3 separate regions of the Homo sapiens genome follow, and all the other regions are linked to region 2. The links are contacts of gene promoters, found by promoter capture Hi-C in blood cells and fetal thymus (Javierre and others, 2016). All regions are on one chromosome and are shown on one strand. The core of a region is centred on a gene start or on the middle of the fragment in contact, and the rest is flanking DNA. Distances in the headings are between cores, read along the strand shown. Region 1 has its middle 76 kb from the start of DCD. Region 2 holds the start of OR10P1 (olfactory receptor family 10 subfamily P member 1). Region 3 has its middle 52 kb from the start of NEUROD4.

Evidence for each region. The method cuts DNA at HindIII sites, captures the fragments that hold promoters and counts their contacts. A CHiCAGO score of 5 or more calls a contact.
Region 1: a contact is called between a fragment that was not itself captured here and the fragment with the promoter of OR10P1 in region 2, in 1 of 17 cell types (M0 macrophages). The highest score is 5.7, in M0 macrophages.
Region 3: a fragment that was not itself captured here is called in contact with the fragment with the promoter of OR10P1 in region 2 in 1 of 17 cell types (neutrophils); the score reaches 5.4 in neutrophils.

The regions. Positions count from the first base shown.
Region 1 is chr12:54,722,468-54,726,452 of GRCh38, forward strand. No RefSeq gene overlaps it. Among named protein-coding and RNA genes, the nearest start is that of DCD, 76 kb to the left of the region's middle. The HindIII fragment of the contact is 1,374 bases long and covers 636-2,009 here.
Region 2 is chr12:55,634,165-55,638,301 of GRCh38, forward strand. OR10P1 (olfactory receptor family 10 subfamily P member 1) reads left to right here and starts at 2,728. Exons shown (of 1, transcript NM_206899.1): 1 at 2,728-3,669. The coding sequence starts at 2,728. The coding sequence ends at 3,669. RefSeq lists an enhancer at 2,565-3,066. The HindIII fragment of the contact is 13,599 bases long and covers 1-4,137 here.
Region 3 is chr12:55,069,999-55,074,012 of GRCh38, forward strand. No RefSeq gene overlaps it. Among named protein-coding and RNA genes, the nearest start is that of NEUROD4, 52 kb to the left of the region's middle. The HindIII fragment of the contact is 7,255 bases long and covers 1-4,014 here.

The DNA.
Region 1 (3,985 bases), core at 73-2,572, 910 kb before region 2:
GCCCTAGAAGAGACTTTTCTCCTATCTCCATAAAGATCAGATGGATCCATCAAGAACAATTGCTTTTCCTTTCCTTCATTGTTATCTCATTATCTATTAATATTTCAGGAAAGGAAAGAATGTAACCAGACCTGGCCCAACCATTTTGCAAAATAATTCCTGTCTCTCAGTTCGTTCAACTTCCAAAGAGAACCATTTGAAAGTCCATCTCTGTTCCCCCTTTCATTCATTCTCCCAAGTACCCATTCTTTTTCCTTTGGTAATCATTTACTGTCTCTCCACAGTTACTATATTCCCTATCTTCCCCCTCCCCTCTGAAAGAAGATTATATAAGTGTTTGGGCCCCACTGGGAAATTGGGTAATCTCTGTGATTCTCCCCATGCACACGGTTAAATAAATTTGTACGCCTTTTCTCTTATTAGTCAGCCTTATTGTGAGGCAATAATGGTTCGCTAATTTTTTCATTGAAAAGAATTTGCTGATTTTTTTTTTTTCAGTGAACCTTTCTAGGGCAAGGGGGAAGCTTCTCCATGGCCTCTACAGTTTTGGCATAGTCAATAATGGTTCACTGATTTTTTCACTGAAAAGGGTTTGCTGATTTTTTTTTCTGTGAACATTTCTAGGGCAAGGGGGAAGCTTCCCCATGGCCCCTACGGTTTTGGCATAGTTGGCAGAATCATCAAAGCCATTGTGCACTTCTGGAGACCATAGTGAAGGGAATCCAGGACCCAACAAAGTTGGCAAAGAAATGGTAAGAATTCCTTACTGGTCAGCCTCCCAGTTTCTTTCTTTCCATGAACTCTCTGGTCGAGTGAATGGTAAAAAAAAAAAAAAAAAAATCACTCTCTCTCTTTTCCTTTCCAAATTTAAGATTAGTGAGAGAAAACGTTTTATATGGGACTAGTTGGGTTTTAGCAACTCTGGTGTATTTAATTTGGGGTGTGAATATTTATATTGTTTTATTACTGGAAAGGGGTCCCAATCCAGACCCCAAAAGAGGGTTCTTGGATCTTGTGCAAGAAAGAATCTGGGGCAAGTCCATAGCGTAAACGAAAGCAAGTTTACTAAGAAAGTAAAGGAATAAGAGAATGGCTACTCTATATGCAGAGCAGCCCATTTTTATGGTTATTTCTTGATTATATGCTAAAGAAGGTATGGATTATTCATGAGTTTTCCGGGAGAGGGGTGGGCAATTCCTAGAACTGAGGGTTCCTCCCTTTTTTTTTTTTTTTTTTTTTTAGAACATTTAGGGTAACTTCCTGACATTGCCATGACATTTGTAAACTGTCACAGTGCTGTTGGGAGTGTGCCTTAGCATGCTAATGCATTATAATTAGTGTGTAATGAGCAATGAGGACCAGCAGAGGTCACTGTCATTGCCATCTTGGTTTTGGGAGGTTTTGGCTGGCTTCTTTACTGCAACCTGTTGTATCAGCAAGGTCTTTATGACCTGTATCATGTGCCGACCTCCCATCTCATCCTGTGACTAAGAATGCCTTAACCTCCTGGCAATGCAGCCCAGTATGTCTCAGCCTTATTTTACCCCGTCCCTATTCAAGATGGAGGCACTGTGGTTCAAATGCCTTTGACAGTTTGCACTCTTTTTCTCTCAGAAATAGCCTTTTGTTGTTGTTGTTCCATTTTCCTTTGTCTTTCTGTGTTATTCTTTTATAAAGAGGGGTACCACAGGGTAGAACATGAGCCTAGATCCCCTATAAGCCCACTGTTCAGGCTGGCCCTGCAGACTGGTTAGTTTTTTGCTGAGCTGACTAGATGAGCATCTGTAAAGATAAACTGCTTTTAGTCCCTGAAACAAAAACTGGATTTTTTTTTTTTTGGTTTATAACCTTGGGAGCTTGTCTTTGTGACTAAGTGTGGGTACTCTCTTAGTCTCTGCCATCAGGAGGGTATGAATTTTTGGGTTCATGTTAGGTGACCAATCTGAAAAGACTGGGAGTCTGAGACATGTACGATTTTAAGCAGCACATTATTTATACCAAATGTGCCAAGCTTTTAGGGGAGATTTGCCATAAAAGGTCCCATTTTTATGGGACTTTTGTTGTCTTTTGTTACTTTCAGCCTATTTCTGAGAGTGAATTTTTGGGCATTATGGGGACTGCCTCTTCTGTGCCCTCTCCAGAAACACATCTTGCTTATACAGTGACAACCTATTCTCAACCTGGGAAATTACCACCTTGGCTTACTATGAAGAGGCTTATTGGATTAAGTCATTATTGGAATAAATAAACCATTGAAAATTCTAATTATAAGTGGCCAGCAGAGGATCTTTTGAATGAGAAAGGCTTAAATTTAAGGAAAATTTTAAAGAGCTCTCATTCTAAGCATTTGCCTTATTTGTATTTATGAGAAGATCAAATTGAAAGAAAGACATGCACTAGTGTTGTGGCTTGCTTTAAGAACTCTCCTGACAAGATTAAAAAACAGAAATCTAATCTAGAACAAAAGTTAAAATCTGCCCCCAATTTAAATTTCCCTACAACTTATACTCTTCTTTATCCTCAACTACATGTCCCAGACCCCCCGAGAAGATTCTTTGATCATCTGGGCCCCTGGTCAAAATCCCCCTCCTCAAAATCCAGTCTTAACCCCACAGCAAACTTCTGTAATAACCCCTAAAACAATTACACCCCTAATGTCTCCAGAAAATCCTTTAGCTAACCAACTGCCTAATCTGACTTCTGTGTCTCTGCAGGATTTGCAGAAAACACTTGGACCTAATTTAAAGTCCGGATGCATACAGGTCAATTGTATAAGAGCTGACAAGCAAGAGAAACCCGTTAGATAAACCAGGCAGTGCTTGACTTCCTGTGCCATATGATGCTTCTTCCTTTCCAGGCTATATAAGTAACTCCAACAGCTCCAGGCTTTCCTAGGCAGTGCCCCCTGAGAATATATCCACGGCCTCCATGACAAAGAATTTATGTCCCCTAGATGGCAGCAAATCTTCTGAATTACGAAACCCATTTGCTCCTACTTTCAGAAGATCCTACGGAATCAGAGAGGCTAGTAGCCATTTACAGTCTCACTCACAGGGACCTTGACCGGCTACTAAGGGGTGTACTTCCCACCCATCCCACCCATGATTATCCTGTAGTCCATAGACAGGCCAGAAGGCCTGCAGGGGAAAACCCTAAACACAGGGGGAACAGGTGGCCAGATCCTCTCCCTGGCCTCCCTGTGGATGACCAGGAAATGGCTCAGCTAGAGGCTAATATTCAGGGTCTGAGGTGGTGATATTAGAGGCTTTCCCTCCTAAGGTTAATTGGTCTAAGTTCCAATTATGTAACCAGAAAGAGGGAGAACACCCTAAGGCTTTTATTGAGGGGTTTATGCAAACTTTTCAGGGGAATACTGGATTAAAACCCGATGCACCAGAACACAGAAATCTTTAAATTTCTGCCCTTGTTGAAAATCTACTTCCATAATCACACACACACACACACACACACACACACACACACACACATCTAGAACAGTATAGTTGGTTGGGCTAGTCAGCCTCTCTATTAGTCTGTTCTCACACTGCTATAAAGAACTACCTGAGACTGGGTAATTTATGAAGAAAAGAGGTTTAATTCATGCACAGTTGCATAGGCGTAATAGGAAGCATGACTGGGAGGCTTTAAGAAACCTACAATCATGGCAGAAGGTGAAGGGGAGGCAAGCACTTTCTTCACATTGCGGCAGGAGAGAGAGACAGAAAAGGAGGGGGTGCCATACACTTTTAAACCATCAGATCTCATGATAATTCACTCACTATTATGAGAACAACCAGGAGGAAATCCACCCCATGATCCAATCACCTCCCACCAAGTCCCTTCCCCAACATTGGGAATTACAAATCAACATGAAATTTGGGTGGCGACATAGAGCCAAATCATATAATTGCAATCCAGAGCCCTCTCAAATCTCATGTCCTTCTCACATTTCAAAACATAATCATGCTTTCCCAACATTCCCCCA
Region 2 (4,137 bases), core at 1,478-3,977:
TGCAGTGGGACAAAGACTTGAGAGTGATATATGAGAAAAAAAGAATTTAAGGTGATGGAATAATGGTGGATTTATTCCAAATGTTTCCTAAATATTTTTAATTGAAAAAAACAACATTTTAAAAATTTGAAAACATCAGGATCTATTTCGTGTTTTCTTGGTGGTGTGGACATCTGAAAAGTTTTTTTTTCCTTTTTAATCAGCCAGCCCAAAATGTCATGAAGATTTATGGACGAAAGTAGAGAGGACTAATGAACTCAGATACTCCTTCTGTCCAAACTGACTACATGCAAGTTCATCTCCCAAAAGTGTAGAGTGAGGCTATTGGCCTCACAAGACATATAGTAAGTATGTGGTTGATACCTCAGGCTCAAAATTACAATTCTGGTTCTGCTGTTCACTGACTTTGTGATCTTGCATAGGTCGTTTAAACCCTCAGAGCTCTGGTTCTTTATCTGCAATGACAAAATAACAATTGTCACTAATGTTGTTATAAAGGTCAACTGATATACTGTATAATCCCCAGCACACAGCACTCTCCAAACATAAGCTAGAATAAATGGTTTAAGGCCACAAAAAAAAAAATATGTTGAGAGAGCAGAGTGAGGGTGGGATGAAAGTTAAGTGCAATGGATAGAACTTTGAGGCTCTGTTTCCTAAATATGAAGATGGCCAGACTAACCTCATGGCGTGGGTCAATATGGGTGATCAAAGCTCCGTGAATCTTGGGACCAGGACTTCTGAAAGTCCAGTCCAGTTTCCTGTCTTTGTCAAACTAGCTGCCTAAATTTAGGCAAATCACTTAATTGTTCTATTTATCAGTTCCTCTGTCTTTATAACTGAGATTCGTTCACTCATCTAATAAATGTTTAGCGAACACTCGACATGGTCCAAGTACTGAGCTTGTTTTTCTGGTGATTAACCTCTTTTTTTTTTTTTTTTTTTTTTTTGAGGCAGAGTCTCACTCTGTCGCCCAGGCTGGAGTGCAGTGGCACGATCTCGGCTCACTGCAAGCTCCACCTTCTGAGTTCACGTCATTCTACTGCCTCAGCCTCCTGAGTAGCTGGGACTACAGGCGCCCACCACCACGCCCAGCTTATTTTTTGTATTTTTAGTAGAGACGGGGTTTCACCGCGTTAGCCAAGATGGTCTCGATCTCCTGACCTCGTGATCCACCCACCTCAGCCTCCCAAAGTGCTGGGATTACAGGCGTGAGCCACTGCGCCTGGCCTTGGTTTTTTTTTTTTTCTTTTTTTTTTTTTTTTTTTTTTTTTGACTGGTGATTAACCTCCAAGGCAGTTGATAACTTGGTGGTTAAGATCACAGGCTCTGGGGTTAGGCAGACCTGGATTTGAACCCAAACTCTGTCACTTACAAAATGTGTGACATTGAGAAAGTTACTTAACACTGTCTGGGCTTCCCTCTCCTTATCTGTAAAATGGAGAAAATGAAGGTTTCTATGTCGTAGTGTAATTAGGAAGATCCAATGATTTAATGAATGTTTAGCCCTTAGCATGGTGCCTGGCAGGAACCAAGCACTTGGGAAACATTAGCAGCTGCTAAAATAGGTAACTGCCTCCCCACCTCCCCACCACGTCCTGCAGGATCTCACAGTGGAGTAATAAGTGCTAGGACAAAAGGACAAGCAACATCTCATGAAAGCAGAGATAAAAGTGCCTTCCTCAAATACTCAAGGGCTCTCTGGTGCAAGAGGAGTTAAATATTGTATGAAATACTAAGCATTTAGCCAAGACCAATACAGTAAAGTCTTTTCCTACAGGCAGAAGAGGCCATAGCTAGAAAGGGCTACCTCAATAGGTGGTGAGTTCCCCATCACTGCAGATGTTCAAACAGACTCTGCACAGCACCCTTCTAAAATGTTGAAGATAAGATCCAAGTACTGTCATATGGAAATATATGTTCCTAAATGTCACTTTTAATCTTGAAATGCCATGGATAATTATTTCTGAGCCTGAGGATCACAGAAAGCTGCCACCGAGATAGCGAAACTTGAGTGAAGGCTTGAAGTGTGATGGGATTTTAATATGAAGAATAGAAATATCCTCTGAAAGGAGACACTATGGCAATGCATGGAGGCCTGACAGAACAGGGTGTGCTGGGACAGAACAGCTAGTGTAGCTGATCACAGGGCCCCAGATAAGAGGAGAACAGAGAAATCAGGGAAGGTGTCAGAATCCCAATGATACCATTGGGCAGTATTATCACAAATAGTCATATCACTGTGTGACACTCTTAACCCACAGCTCACTATGGTGAACATTAGACACCAGTTCGGGACAGTCCCTGGTGCTACCCAGTTTCTTTTGTGCCTCAGCATCCATCTAGAGAGTACAAAGGGGCCTAGGTCATAGCAGCTGCTTCACCCCTCACTCTGGAGAGAGATCCAAAGATCAGAGCTAGAGTCTTTACATATGAGAGTCAGGCCCCAGACACAGGACGAGAGCCCAGGAAACAGTGAGAAAGGCGTCGAATTTGGAGTCAAGAGACCTGGATTCAAGTTCCAGGCCTGCCACTTTCTAGATATTACCTCAGACACATTATTTAATCTCTCTGAGACCCATGGCTCATTCAGAGAAAGGTATTAATTCTCTCACTTGATTTTGAGAGGAACTGTGTGGCAAGTGCTTTACCAAATTACAGAAATGTTGCTTGTTATTTCTAAATAACTTCTCTTCTTGGCTGTGCCTCAGCTTCTGGCCTGGAGTGATGGCTGGGGAAAACCATACTACACTGCCTGAATTCCTCCTTCTGGGATTCTCTGACCTCAAGGCCCTGCAGGGCCCCCTGTTCTGGGTGGTGCTTCTGGTCTACCTGGTCACCTTGCTGGGTAACTCCCTGATCATCCTCCTCACACAGGTCAGCCCTGCCCTGCACTCCCCCATGTACTTCTTCCTGCGCCAACTCTCAGTGGTGGAGCTCTTCTACACCACTGACATCGTGCCCAGGACCCTGGCCAATCTGGGCTCCCCGCATCCCCAGGCCATCTCTTTCCAGGGCTGTGCAGCCCAGATGTACGTCTTCATTGTCCTGGGCATCTCGGAGTGCTGCCTGCTCACGGCCATGGCCTATGACCGATATGTTGCCATCTGCCAGCCCCTACGCTATTCCACCCTCTTGAGCCCACGGGCCTGCATGGCCATGGTGGGTACCTCCTGGCTCACAGGCATCATCACGGCCACCACCCATGCCTCCCTCATCTTCTCTCTACCTTTTCGCAGCCACCCGATCATCCCGCACTTTCTCTGTGACATCCTGCCAGTACTGAGGCTGGCAAGTGCTGGGAAGCACAGGAGCGAGATCTCCGTGATGACAGCCACCATAGTCTTCATTATGATCCCCTTCTCTCTGATTGTCACCTCTTACATCCGCATCCTGGGTGCCATCCTAGCAATGGCCTCCACCCAGAGCCGCCGCAAGGTCTTCTCCACCTGCTCCTCCCATCTGCTCGTGGTCTCTCTCTTCTTTGGAACAGCCAGCATCACCTACATCCGGCCGCAGGCAGGCTCCTCTGTTACCACAGACCGCGTCCTCAGTCTCTTCTACACAGTCATCACACCCATGCTCAACCCCATCATCTACACCCTTCGGAACAAGGACGTGAGGAGGGCCCTGCGACACTTGGTGAAGAGGCAGCGCCCCTCACCCTGAAGGGACTCGGATGTCTGCTCACTCACTCAGTGCTCATCCTCCCACTCTTCAGGGACTGGATTTAAACCCCACTCTCACAGAAATCATGCAGCACCTCAAAGGAAAAGGCTTCCTGGAAGAAAGTGCTGAAATTAAAACAGAGATAAATCTACATATTGCCTCTTATCCCAGAGTCCACACTCACTATCAGAGCATGGGTTATTAGGTCAAGGTAGAATGAAAGTGATTGCTGCCCTAGGGAAAGGACATTTATTTAGCATCTTCTAGATTGTTCTGGATCCCTGAGCACAGTGATTGCCATGGCTGCACCGGTAGCCAGAGGTCCATGTCAGTCATGAAAGCAGGTGTCTGTGAACTTGACATCCAACTAAGTGGCCCACCCAAAGCCTGTGGAGGAGTTTACCTAGCCCCTCTGTTACATTTTCTTCCACCACCTGTGTCTGAGCTTTCCTCTACTCAGTGGAACAT
Region 3 (4,014 bases), core at 463-2,962, 570 kb before region 2:
TACAGAAGAATTTTCTGACTTAGATTGTCAAATATTTGAAGAAATATTAGACAAATAAAGCTCATGCAATTTCCTTCTCAACCATTTAAATCTTTAAGGGGCAAATGAAACATGTTTATTGATTATTAGTGCCAAATACTGTATATATCTCTTTAAAACTTACAGCAACTATCTAGTAGTATTATAATTATTCTCATTTTATAGATGAGGCAACTGAGTCTCAGAGAGATTTAAAGAAAAAAATGTTACTCTAATTCACACGGTGGTTGAGTGGTGTGGGCACGAATAGCAGGCTGAACAGTCTGATTCTAATGTCCACTCTTTTTACGTTACACTACATTGATCTACTCTGTTACATTCACATGACATAATACAAACCCAGGCCTGTGCTGTCCAATACAGTAGCCATTAGTCCTATGTGACTATTTAAATTAATTAAAATGAAATAAAGTTAAAAATTCAGTCCCTCAGTCACATAAGTCAATATTTCATATGTTCAATGGTCATGTGTGGCTAGGGGCTACTCTATACTGGAAAGAGCAGATATAAGACATTTTCATTAATGCAGAAAGTTTTTGACAGAACAAGATCCCCTCTAGATGAGAAGTGGTACAGTGGAGTGGGTGAGGGCATAGGCTTTAGAGTCAACAGATTTGGGCTTGAAACCTACTTTTCCCACTGTTATTTGTATGATGTTGTCCTTGATTAATTGTACTTTTCTTATTTAGTCCTCAATTTACTGGTTTGAAGCCTGAGGACAATAACAGATTTTCCCTCAAAGAGTTATTAGAGTCAGACAGAGAGCAGAATTCCAGAAAATTGGTAAGGAGTTGGCAGAAGTTAGCTATTATCACAAGCTATCTACAGTTTTGAAAAAAATGACTATGTTTTGTTAGAAATAGGCACAAAAGGGTATATACATATTTGATTTACTGTATTTGTAAAATAAGCCAGGTTGATATGAGAATTTTCCTAAAGCAGATTTAGTAAAAATTTTGTCCAGGAATCATATTTGTGCAAAAATTTGCTACCCTACTCAGAGTAGGGATACTATATTTCATCCTTGAATTCCTGTGGCCTAGCACAGTGTGTGTCTTGATTAGTTTTTTGTTGCTGTAACAGAATACATTATAGTGTATTCTGGGGAAACTTATTAAGAAGAGAAATTTATTTCTTACAGTTCTGGAGACTGGGATGTCCAAGGTCAAGACACTGGCAGGCTTGGTGTCTGCTTCCAAGATGGTGCCTTGAATGCTGCATCCTCCAGAGGGGAGGAACACTGTTCCTCACATGGCAGAAGAGCAGAAGGGGAACCCACTTCCAAAAGCTCCTTTATTGCAACATTAATTCATTCATTAGGACTGAGCCCTCATGACCTAAACACCTCCCATTTGGTGCCACCTCCCAACACTGTTACATTGATGATTAAGTTTCCAACACATGAGTTTGGAGTAGACAAAAACATTCAAACCATAGCAGAGCCTTACATTTAGTAGTCCTATATATGTTGGCTGAAGTGAAGTGAGAGATGGCAAGAGGTACAAAAAGGGATGGTCAGATGCATTTTGTTTTGTCTGGTCCATCATGTTGTACATCACACCACAAACCCCAGTTTCACATAAATGAGCTAGGGTGACCAACCATCCTGGTTGCCCACCTCAGAACTTTCCCTGTTTTAGAACTGAGAAACCTCTCAGGCCCAGGAAAACCAGAATATTTAGTTACCTGACTGGGTTCAGCTTTAATGAGAATCTGACTTTAAGGTCAAGTAAAAGGTTTATCTACTTCTATAGCCCAATATTACTTAAACGTGAGAGATATCCATTCCTTTTATCATCAAAATAAACAAATGAAGTTCAGCCAAAATACGAATAAGGCTCTTGATATCAGAATATCTCCTATTTTGTTGTGGGAAAGGGGGTAGGAAATGGGAAGATACTGAAAGGAGAGTGTTAGGTCAGGGAGAGCTGGAACTAGAAAAAGGTCTGGAGTGATGCAGGATTTTTCTCAGCCCCTTTGTCAGACTAATGACAGGGGTGCCCTGTTTACTTGGCCCACCACACTCAACCCTTTGTGAGAGAGAGCATGTGAGTAAGTGAGTGGGATCCAGCCAGCTGCTTTGGGCACCAGCAGGAGCAAGCTCAGTGTGGAGCCTGCAGTGGTGCCCAGGTGGGGGTGCCTGCCACCCCAAAACCCCAGAGGGCATGTTTGCAGTGCTCTCATAGCTCTGCCATCTGCAGACAGCAGTGTCTTAGCAGCTCGGTTGGCCCGTTGCCTCATTGTGTGGGGTGGCTGCCCTCTGCTGGCAAGGGCAAAGAGCCAATGTGGCAGCCTTTTTTGGGTACCTGCACTCAGTGGGTTCTGAGCTCTTGGATGCTGGACAAGAAGAATGAGGTTAGCCTTGAAGGATGGTGAAGGCGGAGAATTTTATTAAGTGATGGAAATTGTTCTCAGTGGACAGGGGAGCTGGACAGGGGATGGGACAAGCAGGTAGTCTTTCCCCCAAAGTCCGGCTGGCTCTTTCACGAAGTCCAGCCAGCTATTCCCTGAAGTCAAGCCACCTCAGTGAAGTCAAGCTGCCTCTCTTCTCTACTGACTGAGTCTGGGGTCTTTATAAGCACAGGATGGGAGTGGGGGCAGGCCATAGGTAGTTTTGGAAAAGGCCATGTTTGACTGGTAAAAAGACATTACTCAGAAAGAGCCAATTGGGAGAGAGTGGGCAAAGAGGAATGGAAGTTCTCACTTTGGGCTGCAGGTCTCAGGCCACTTTGGCATGAAGGTGGGTTTTCACCGGGGACCCGCCCCGTCTGCCTAGAATTTCTCTGCCTCCTGCCTCTATCAGGAGGACCTAAGCAAAAATTTTGCTCACTACTTAGTTTACATATTTTGTTATTCCACCGTATCATTTCTCTTAGAAATAACAGTCCCTAGAGGATCTGGGATAGAGAAAGGCCACAGTGAATGTTTATAATACTGTGAAGGAGCTGCCCTGGAAACTAAAAGATCAGGTTCTAATCCTGGTTCTGTCATGAACTATTTTTGACCTTTGATAAGTCGCCTACATTTTCAGAAATTCAGTTTCCTCTTTGGACTCTGAAGGAAAATGTGGGCTCAATTGATCAAAAGATCCTAGTTCTTTGTAGATCGAATACTTAGGATTTAATAGGAACATCCTCTCAGAAGCCCATCATGACTTTTCACCACTGACTAGGCCAAGTATTGATGGTGCTATCATGGGGATGTGCTGCCACCTTGCGGTAGTTTGAGTTGTCCGCATGCACTAGTTTACTAGGAAAATCTCTGATTTATTTTCCTACAATATGTTGTTATTTTCACCCAAAGGAACACATTCTTTTAAAATTTGGAATCCTTAGGATATCTTCATTTACTTAGATTTTTTTGTAGCAATATTTTGTAGTTTTAAATGTAGAAATATTAAACATCCTTGATAAAATTTATACCTTTATTTTGATATTATAAATGGTACTTTTAATATTAAAATAAATTTAATTTTACAATTTCTGTTGTTAGTATATAGTAATAAATTGATTTTTATATATTAATTTTGTATCCCAAGATTTTTTTAGATTTATCTTTCGGTTTTAGCAGTTTTTTGAGGGTGGTAAGGGGGCTAGATCCTTAGGATTTTCTATATGCAAAATTATGTAATTTTGAATAAGGAAATTTAAACTTCTTCTTGACCAATCTGTATGCCTTTATCTTCTTTTCACCATTGAATATGATGTCAAAAGGTTTTAGTAGACAACACTAATAGAATGCTTACTGTTGTTTCTGTAGTCTTATAAAAGTATGAAATACATTAATCTTATTTATTTATTTATTTATTTATTTATTTATTTATTTTTGAGATGGAGTCTTGCTCTGTCGCCCAGACTGGACTGCAGTGGCGTGATCTCAGTTCACTGCAACCTCCACCTCCTGGGTTCAAAAAATTCTCCTGTCTCAGCCTCCCAAGTAGCTGGGACTACAGGAGCATGCCACCACGCCTGGCTA